2 separate regions of the Homo sapiens genome follow, and region 1 is linked to region 2. The links are contacts of gene promoters, found by promoter capture Hi-C in human tissues and cell types (Jung and others, 2019). All regions are on one chromosome and are shown on one strand. Each heading gives the region's core, a stretch centred on a gene start or on the middle of the fragment in contact. The rest is flanking DNA. Distances are from core to core; before and after follow the strand shown. Region 1 overlaps LOC105371075 (a long non-coding RNA gene). Region 2 holds the start of EMP2 (epithelial membrane protein 2).

The links. The method cuts DNA at HindIII sites, captures the fragments that hold promoters and counts their contacts. A contact is called where the count stands out against the background at its distance.
Region 1: a fragment that was not itself captured here is called in contact with the fragment with the promoter of EMP2 in region 2 in 1 of the 25 tissues and cell types used here (dorsolateral prefrontal cortex).

The regions. Positions count from the first base shown.
Region 1 is chr16:9,296,398-9,301,092 of GRCh38, forward strand. LOC105371075 (a long non-coding RNA gene) reads left to right here. Exons shown (of 2, transcript XR_933060.2): 2 at 1,023-1,577. Among named protein-coding and RNA genes, the nearest start is that of LINC02177, 57 kb to the right of the region's middle. The HindIII fragment of the contact is 5,241 bases long and covers 1-4,406 here.
Region 2 is chr16:10,577,788-10,581,850 of GRCh38, forward strand. It overlaps EMP2 (epithelial membrane protein 2), which reads right to left and starts at 2,811. Exons shown (of 5, transcript NM_001424.6): 1 at 2,762-2,811. RefSeq lists an enhancer at 837-1,414 and silencers at 1,085-1,379, 2,732-2,971. The HindIII fragment of the contact is 8,569 bases long and covers 1,710-4,063 here.

The DNA of each region.
Region 1 (4,695 bases), core at 536-3,035, 1.3 Mb before region 2:
AACTAAAAAAAAAATTGTGTGAGTGCTTGAGTGGCTCCAAGTTGAATATTAAACAGAAACCCTCAGTGCCCCACGATTCTGGAGATTGGTGTGCATTTGTGATATACAACAGAAGTCAAATCAATATTCAACCAGAGAAACAAATCAGGAGTGAACAGTTTCATACTTAGTCAAGTGTGCTGAGCTCTCCAAGGATGTAGAAAAGAAAGATTTCCTCGGTCCTCTGTGCATGCCCCAAAGGACATCTAAAATCTTCCCAAGGTTAACACCAGAATAAAAGAGACCTTTGGCAATTGTGATATTGTGAGAATTTCCATTCGATAAAGATAATGGAATTTTTAAAGTACTTCTTGGTTGCTATTAGGTCCATGCTGGGAAAATGATGGAAAAAATCCAGTAAAAATATTTTTTTAATATTAGTGGGAAATAATATAGAGAAAAAGAAAATCCCCCGCTAATGAGGAACAATCTAATTTCTGGAAATGGCCACTGTGTTGGATAGATTTTCTGTAATTTCGATTATTGGTATGATTGATTAATCTTGGGATGGCCAACAAGAATGTAAAGAGTTGTCTGGTCACAGATTCTTTTTTTTTTTTTTTTTAATTTTATTGTACTTTAAGTTCTGGGATACATGTGCACAATGTGCAGGTTTGTTACATAGGTATACACATGCCATGGTGGTTTGCTGCACCCATCAACCCGTCATCTACATTAGGTATTTCTCCTAATGCTATCCCTCCCCTAGCCCCCCACCCCCCGACAGGCCCTGGTGTGTGATGTTCCCCTCCCTGTGCCCATGTGTTCTCATTGTCTGGTCACAGATTCTAGGGAATGGGAGATTGAGAGTACATCAGTTTATGCCTTTTTCAGCATCTCGTCTTATCTCACTTTGTAAATTCTATGAGCTGAAGGAAAGGTCATGTGTCTCTTCTTTTAGGACACAGTCCAGTCCAGGTATCTGAGTGGTCACCCCATGTCTGTGTGTCTCCTGAAATGGCGATGTCTTGTGGGGTTTCTAGTTGCAGGTGCCATCAGAATTTGGAGGCCAAAAAAGTAATGGTGGTGGTCCAAGGTGGACATCTGTCAAATGGGTAGTTTGAAAGATGGATTCAGGAGCTGAGATGCTGTGTCTATTATGGATGTTGAGACAGAGAATCATGTTATCTAACTTTTGGGAAGAGTGGAAAACGTCATCTCGTCCCACAACTGCCAGGAGCGATGCAATGGAGGATTCGAAATCACGTGCCGCGACAAGCTAGAGTTACTCCTCCAAGCCACCAGGTGTCACTGGTGTGCCAAGGCGGCAACGAAGCCAAGTTTTCCCGGTGGATGCGGACACTGGAAACCAGCAATCCTTTTAGTTCCCCAACCTGGTTGCCCATCAGAATTCCTTGAGAAATTTAAATAATAATTCTTGGAAATCACTTCAGACCCACTGAATCAATCGAGGCCCAGAAGTGAGTATCTAAAAAAAATTGTTATATGGAAATTGTCATTATTTGGGATGTGTGTGCTGGGGGATTGCTGCTGTATATTATATCTCTATTTAAATAAATGTCCCAGGTGATTCTGTAGTTGCAGCAGGTGTTTGGAAAAATGGAACCAATTTCTTTAACAAAGAAGAAGACTAATTTTCCAAGAGTTGAGGGACTTGCTTAATGCCACCCAAGACAGAGCCATGCTTAGAGGCTGGGCACCTCAACTCAAGTGGGGTCCCTTCCCTCTAGGCAGGGCTGCAGCTCCTAAAGTAGTTCCGGAGACTTCTGGGAAGTTTTGTGCCCTCTCTTGCACTCCCCCCCCCGCCCCCACCAAGCCCAAAAGACACATCCACAGAAGAACTGGTTTATTTGGCAGAATATAATCTTCTTATCCTCTCTGATAGCTCTCCTCCCACCTCATTCTCCAGAGCTCCCACATACAGAGGTCTGATCCCCCTCCTCCAGGTGAGTGATCTCCATGGGCAATTGGACAAAGCAGAATGGCCTACGCTCTGGCACAGCTGATGGGTTAACATGTAACATTTATTGAGCATCTAGTACGTGCCAGGCACTTTCCCATCCATTTGAATGTCATATCAACATTCTGAGAACTACAAATTATTATTTCAATTTACCAAATGAACAGACAGGCTCAGAGAAGTGAAGAAACTCAATCAAGATCACAAAGCTCAGAATTACAGAGATTCAAGCCCAGGTATTTTTTTTTTTTTTTTGAGATGGAGTCTTGCTCTGTCGCCCAGGCTGGAGTGCAGTGATGTGATATCCCCTCACTGTAACGTCTGCCTCTCAGGTTCAAGTGAGTCTCCTGCCTCAGTCTCCCGAGTAGCTGTGACTACAGGCGTACACCATCACACCCAGCTAATTTTTGTATATTTAGTAGAGATGGGGTTTCGCCATCTTGGCCAGGCTGGTCTTGAACTCCTGACCTCAAGTGAACCACCTACCTTGGCTTCCCAAAGTGCTGGGATTACAGGTGTGAGCCACTGTGCCTGGCCTCAAGCCAGGGCTTTTGGGCTTCAAAGCCATATTAATCATCATCATACGGGGTCCCCATAACTCTCCCATCACATCCAAAGAATTTCAGCTATTCTCACCTAGTTTAGAAACTAACCCACTCTCCGGGTTAAAAAAAAATAAAGTCTGTGAGTGTCTTTTTCAGGTGAAAGTAAGATCCAGGGATATTATTTAATACTTTATAAAATTTCCTAAAATATTGAGGTTTGAAGGAAATAAACTATACAGCAAACTTAGTGCACAAATCATCACTTTTCTCTGGTGGATCTCAAAGAACTTTTAAATCAGAGAATTCTTAACTGGGAGTAGACCTTGGTGAGGTCGGCATTAGTGTTAATGAAGTCTTTCATGTTCTTGACATCCGAGACATTTTCCCGAGGATGGAGGTCAAGTCCTGGCATTTGTAATCAGTTGATAAAAGACATGTGTGCACAGCCACATGGGAAATTTATGAATATTATCAAATAACGATGTAGGGTATAATTAAGGTTGAGCTATTAAGTACTAATTAATTAAGCTGTCATATTTTAATCAAGGAATTGATTGTTTCTGTATAGAGCTCTGATGGTTCCGCATCTTTGCAAAGCTCTGGAACCCTGATTTGCAAAGATTAACAAATTAAAAAGCCACACTTTAGCTATTACGTCCTCTGCAAGAGGCAGTGAGCTTTTCTGCTTCCTGGAGAGTGTGGATTCAACAAATTTCTGATTCTTTCCAAAAGCCAAAAAGGTAGGTGAGCGCTCTTGGATAGGCCCAGACCCAAAGGTTGTACTTAGGGTGGTCATTATTCAGATTTTTTTAAAAAATAATTTTTTGAGTACCTACTCTGTGCTTGAAAATACGTTATCTTGCTTTATCGTCAAAGCAACCCACTTTACAGAAGAGGAAACTGAGGTTTAAAGAGGGATTGAAACCTTCTCACTGTCCTGTAAGTGAGGCCAAATGTCTTCAGGGGAGGAGCAGTGGGTTTGAGTTTGTTTTCTCTGAGACTGCAAGGACTGAGCTCTCTTTGCTTTTGATGGTACCATTGTAGCTTTTTAATTTTTATTTATTTATTTATTTATTTTTGAGGCAGAGTCTCACTCTGTCGCCAGGCTGGAGTGTAGTGGCGCGATCTTGGCTCACTGCAACCTCCGCCTCCTGGGTTCCAGCAATTCTCCTGCCTCAGCCTCCTGAGTAGCTGGAACTACAGGTGTGCGCACCACGCCCGGTTAATTTTTGTATTTTTACTAGAGATGGGGTTTCACCATGTTGACCGGGATTGTCTCAATCTCTTGACCTTGTGATGTGCCTGCCTTGGCCTCCCAAAGTGCTGGGATTACAGGCATGAGCCACCACACCAGCCTATTTTTATTTTTATTCCATTTTGCATCACTACTTCCTCTCTTGCCAATCTCTCTTCCTATTGCGTGAAGATTGCTTATCTCATGAAAAACACACCGATTTTTGGAGTCATACAGATCAGGGCTTAAATTCTGACTTGGCTAGTTACTGGTATCAGAGTTTGAATATATTATTTTCATTTTTCTGAACCTCGGCTTTCTCATCTGTGAAATGGGAGCAAAGCCACCACCTTGCAGAGGATTAAATGGCATAACACCCTCATTGTATTGAGCACTTCCTATCCTTCAGGTGTGGTGCTAGGCACATTATATTCATCAGTTCATTTAATATTCCTCACAGTAATCCTGTGCTGTCCAGTAGACTTTCTGCAGTGATGAAAATATTCTATAGCCGCCCTGTCCAACGTGGTTTTCATTAGCCAAGCCTATATAGCTGTGTGCTTGAAATGTGGCTCATGTAACTGAGGGACAGAATTTCTAGTTTTCTTTAATTTATAATGAATTAAAATTTAAATAGCCATATTTGGGTGTTGGCTACTGTATTAGATGGTACAGTTTAAGGATGTTCTATTCTTTTGTTTTTTGAGATAGAGTTTCACTCTTCTTGCTCAGGCTGAAGTGCAATGGCATGATCTCGGCTCACTGCGGCCTCCGCTTCCCAGATTTGAGCAATTCTCCTGCCTCAGCCTCTCGAGTAGCTGGGATTACAGGTGCCTGCCACCATGCCCGGCTAATTTTTGTATTTTTAGTGGAGACGGGTTTTCGCCATGTTGGCCAGGCTGGTCTCAAACTCCTGGCCTCAGGTAATCCACCCGCCTTGGCCTCCCAAAGTGCTG
Region 2 (4,063 bases), core at 1,561-4,060:
GCCTGGGCCCCACCCCACCTTTGGGTAAGTAACGTCACCGCCTCCCCTCTGGAACTCCCGTGGCTGGAGAGCCCTGCCCTGTCCCCACCTTAGCCCCTGTAGCCCGCGTCAGAGTCCCCACTTGGCCACAGAGCTGGGAAGCAGCCACATGTTGTCCCCCCCACCCCCCCACACACAATTATCTGACCCCCCCCTCCCGGCAAAAGGAGGGAGGCTGGACATCTGCTTCCCAAACAAACCTCGCCAAGCAGCCAGCAGTCCAGCGCCAGCCCATCTGGCCTGGAAGGACATTTATATATTTTCATCTCGACAGACTTCCCTTCCTGGTCCCGTCTGGCGGAGTTTACTATGACAAAGAAGTGGCCTTTGCTGTGCCCTCACTGACCTGGAAGGCTGTATAGCAGAGGCGAGGGCAGGAGAGTGTCACTCTATGCCTAGGGTGAAAAATGGGCTGGTTGATCCTCCCTGTTAATTACCTGTTGCGGGAAATTGGGGAGTCTGTGCACATATGCATGTGGTTTTAGCTCCTACTACGAAGATATTATGTGAGAGGCAGAGAAAAGATACTGAGGTGAAACATTCACTTCCGTTCCAGGAAGAAAGGATTTAAGTGCCATTACTGGGGTGAGGGTGGAGAAGCGGGGGCGGTTTGCTAAATGGATGTGCTCCATAGCCACAATAAAACGCCACCAAGCCCTTTTAGCCCCTCATTAGCTAGACCCTAATCTGGGGTGGTGCCAGCCAGAGCGGGTGCACCCCCTCCTCCAGCCCGAGGTGGGGCAGTGTCAGCCCCAAGCCTCACCCTCCTCACAGGGACGCTTCCGCCTGGCCCTGCCCTCACCCACTCAGCTGGTCGACTCCGTGGTTTCCAACACAAACACATTCTCTGGATTTCAGGCGCACCTCAATCTCTCCACTTGAGGGGCAGAGGAGGCTCCAGGCTATGTGGCCAGCCCTCTGCCTCCTACTCGACTCCCTGGCTCCCCATGGGATGGAGGTGGTGAGATCCAAAAACCCTCAGTGGGAAAACAGGTTCTGCACCTTCCTGCCACCTCCACGCCTCTCCCTGGGCTGTAGTCTTGGCATTTGCCAAGGCCCCCGTGGGCATCCACGCCCTGTTTTCCCCAGAAGGGTCTCCCCTCATTCCCTGCAAACCAGCAGGGCATCTCCAGGTGGAAAGAAGGGGAGGGCTTGGGAGGCAGATGGAGGTTCAAGGTCTAGTTCTTTGCATTTACCAGCTCAGTGGCCTTGAGCAAACCGACTTAGATCTCTAGCCTGTTTCCCCACTTGCAACAGGAGAGCGTGCTGGAAACAGCTCAGGGGTGAGGCTCCCAGGGAGAAACGGAGATGGAGGGCGAGCACCAGCCAACTGCAAACCTCCAGCAGCTCAGGTCGCCATCCTTCCCCTTGTGTGACTCCTGGGAAACCAGGACCCCGTCCCTTCCTCGTCCTCTTTAAGCTTTCTTAACTGAAGGCCGAATTCCAGGAAGAGGTGCCCAGCAATAATGTGTCGGTTCTTAGATTTCTCTCTGATTCAGACTGGAGTGCAGAGGTGGCTAAAGGCGGCTTTTAAAAAATTTTTATGATAAAATATGCATAACATCATAATCATCATTTTAACCGATGATAAGCATACAACTCAGTGGCATTAAATACCTTCACGATACTGTGTAACCATTGCCACTATGTATACCCAAAACTTTTTCATCCTCCCCAAGAAAAACTCTGTCCCATTAAACAGTAACTCCCGGTTCCCAGGTACCCCCAGGCCCTGGCAACCATCATTCTACTTTCTGTCTATAAAATTTGCCTATTCTAGGTGTCTCATAAAAGTGGAATCACACTGTATTTGAACTGGAGGCTTCTTAAGTCCCTCTCCAAGCCCCTTACTTAGACACAGCTGAATTATAAGATCAAGGTGCACACACACACACACACACACACACACACACCCTCAAAGCTTGGGAGGGGCAGTGCTCCCTTCCCCAAAACTGAAGCTGGCCTGGAGGGAGAGCTTTGCCCTGTGGTGTCTTCGGAGTCCCCATGTCCAGCCCCACATCTTCACCTAAAAGACCTCCCTGGAGCGTGCTCAGATCTCTGGATTTGGGGAGGGCGTAGAATACACACTACGAGCTGCAGCCTCTCCTACCTCTGGAACACATGGGTGCGGTCTCGCCTCTTTAAAGCCCCCCAAGCCCTTCTAGAGTTGGCAGGGAGAGAGGTGTCATCCCAGCAGCGCCTCCCGGCTCCTCCACCGTTCCTGACCCCCAAGAAGTCGCTCCTCGCCGCTCGGGGGCGCGACGGAGCAGCGGCGGGGGCCTAGAGGGGTACGCAGCCCAGGAGGACCCGCTGGCCCGGCCTGGCGCACCAGTCCTGCCCGCGAGGCGAGTCTGGGGACGCTGCCCGGGAATCCCTCACGCGACCTGGGGATCTCCCTGGACTCCAAGAGCCCCGGGTGTAAGTCCGGCGGGGCGAGGGGAGGCGCCCTGACTCCTCCCCAAACTTTTCCCGCCTGCTTCGGCTCAAAAGGCGTGGGAAGCTGTCCCGGGATGGCGAAGTGGAATTCTGGGGCCGGAGCGAGCGTGGCGCAGACCAGAGGTCGGCGGCATGGGTGGCACCTCGGCCCTCCCGTTACTGTCACCAATTCCGGGGGCTGCTCCCGGTCCAGTAAGTGGAGGGGTCGCGTCCCTGCTGCCCGGGCGTACACGATCCCGGGGCCCCCCCGATGTCGCCCCGCGCCCTGGGTGCGCCCACAACTCACCCGGCGCTGGCGGCTGCGCTGGCAGCTGGATCGACGGACTGGCTGGGGGTGCGAGGCGAGGCCGCCGGGCTGTTTTGAAGCTCTGGGCTGGGACTGCGCGCCCTCCCTCCACCCTCTAGGCGGCGGGGCCCCTCCTTCCCCGATCCCGCCTCCCGGGCCGTGACGCCAGGAGCCGGGAGAGCCGAGTGGGAGGGGCCGCCGGCGAAAGGAGGGGGCCCTGGAGGGAAAGGCCGAGGCCGGGAGCGCCCTGGCGCCCCCGCACCACCGTTCCCGCCCGCCTCCCTGCGGCTCTGTGGCCAGCTTTGGGGCGGAGCCGGTGGCACGGGCCCGGGGGAAAAGGGAGAAAGGGAGGCTCCCGGGAGCAAGGGTCTTCCCTTCTCTGCAGGTTTCCACATCCCTCTCATTCTCTTTCCTCTCCTCTTCTCCCCTTTTCTTCCTCTTCCCTAAGGAGTTTTGGAATCCGGGCTCCCTGCTCTAGAACCCCTTCTCTGGCCTTTTATGAACTTCCTGAGCTCGTCCATAATCTCCCCTGTCTCAGTTTCCTCTTCTGGGAATGGGAGTGATTATAGGTCGGAAGGTGGTAATACGTCCACAATGTTTGGCTCATGGTACCTGCTCCATAGACGTCAGCCATTGTTATTTTTATCATCTCACCTGGAGTCCTGGCCTTGGTGCGAGATGCCCAGCAACCAGTCTTCAGACTCTTCCAGGACCCCCCGTTCACTCCCCCCACCCGACCAGTACACACACACACACACACACACACACACACACACTCACACAAAGCACTCCCCACAGCCTTTCAACCCACAGTCCTGGTATTTAGTGTCCCTGGAAATGACATCAAAGGAACTGCCTTTCTTTCCAGCCTCAGTTTCCCCATCTGGAAACTGGGAGGGCTGATCTGCTCTAGGGGCTCTTGGGAGGATGGGGGAGGAGACCAGAGGCGCCTGAGCCCCATCGTGTGTGTGTGGAAGGAGGGAGTGGGAGTCAGTGTATTTTTACAAATTGAAGAAATTCCAAAACAGGGTCACAACATATAACAGTATATTTTAAACTTTTAATTTAACAAGTTCATGTTACTTGCACATACCCCAGAATACAAGGCAATTGACTTGTGCTACTGACAAGAGAATGAGAAACCCTTTTAAGAAATGTTAATTTATTGTGCAATCCTGTGCTCTGGTTGGACTCCATGTTTGTATTTTCTGTTGAGCATCTTTTTTTAGTCCTGCTGAGGAGCTCTGTCACGAGAGGGCCTTGTTGGCTCTAAATTAGAGATCCTTGGGGGATTTGAGATCC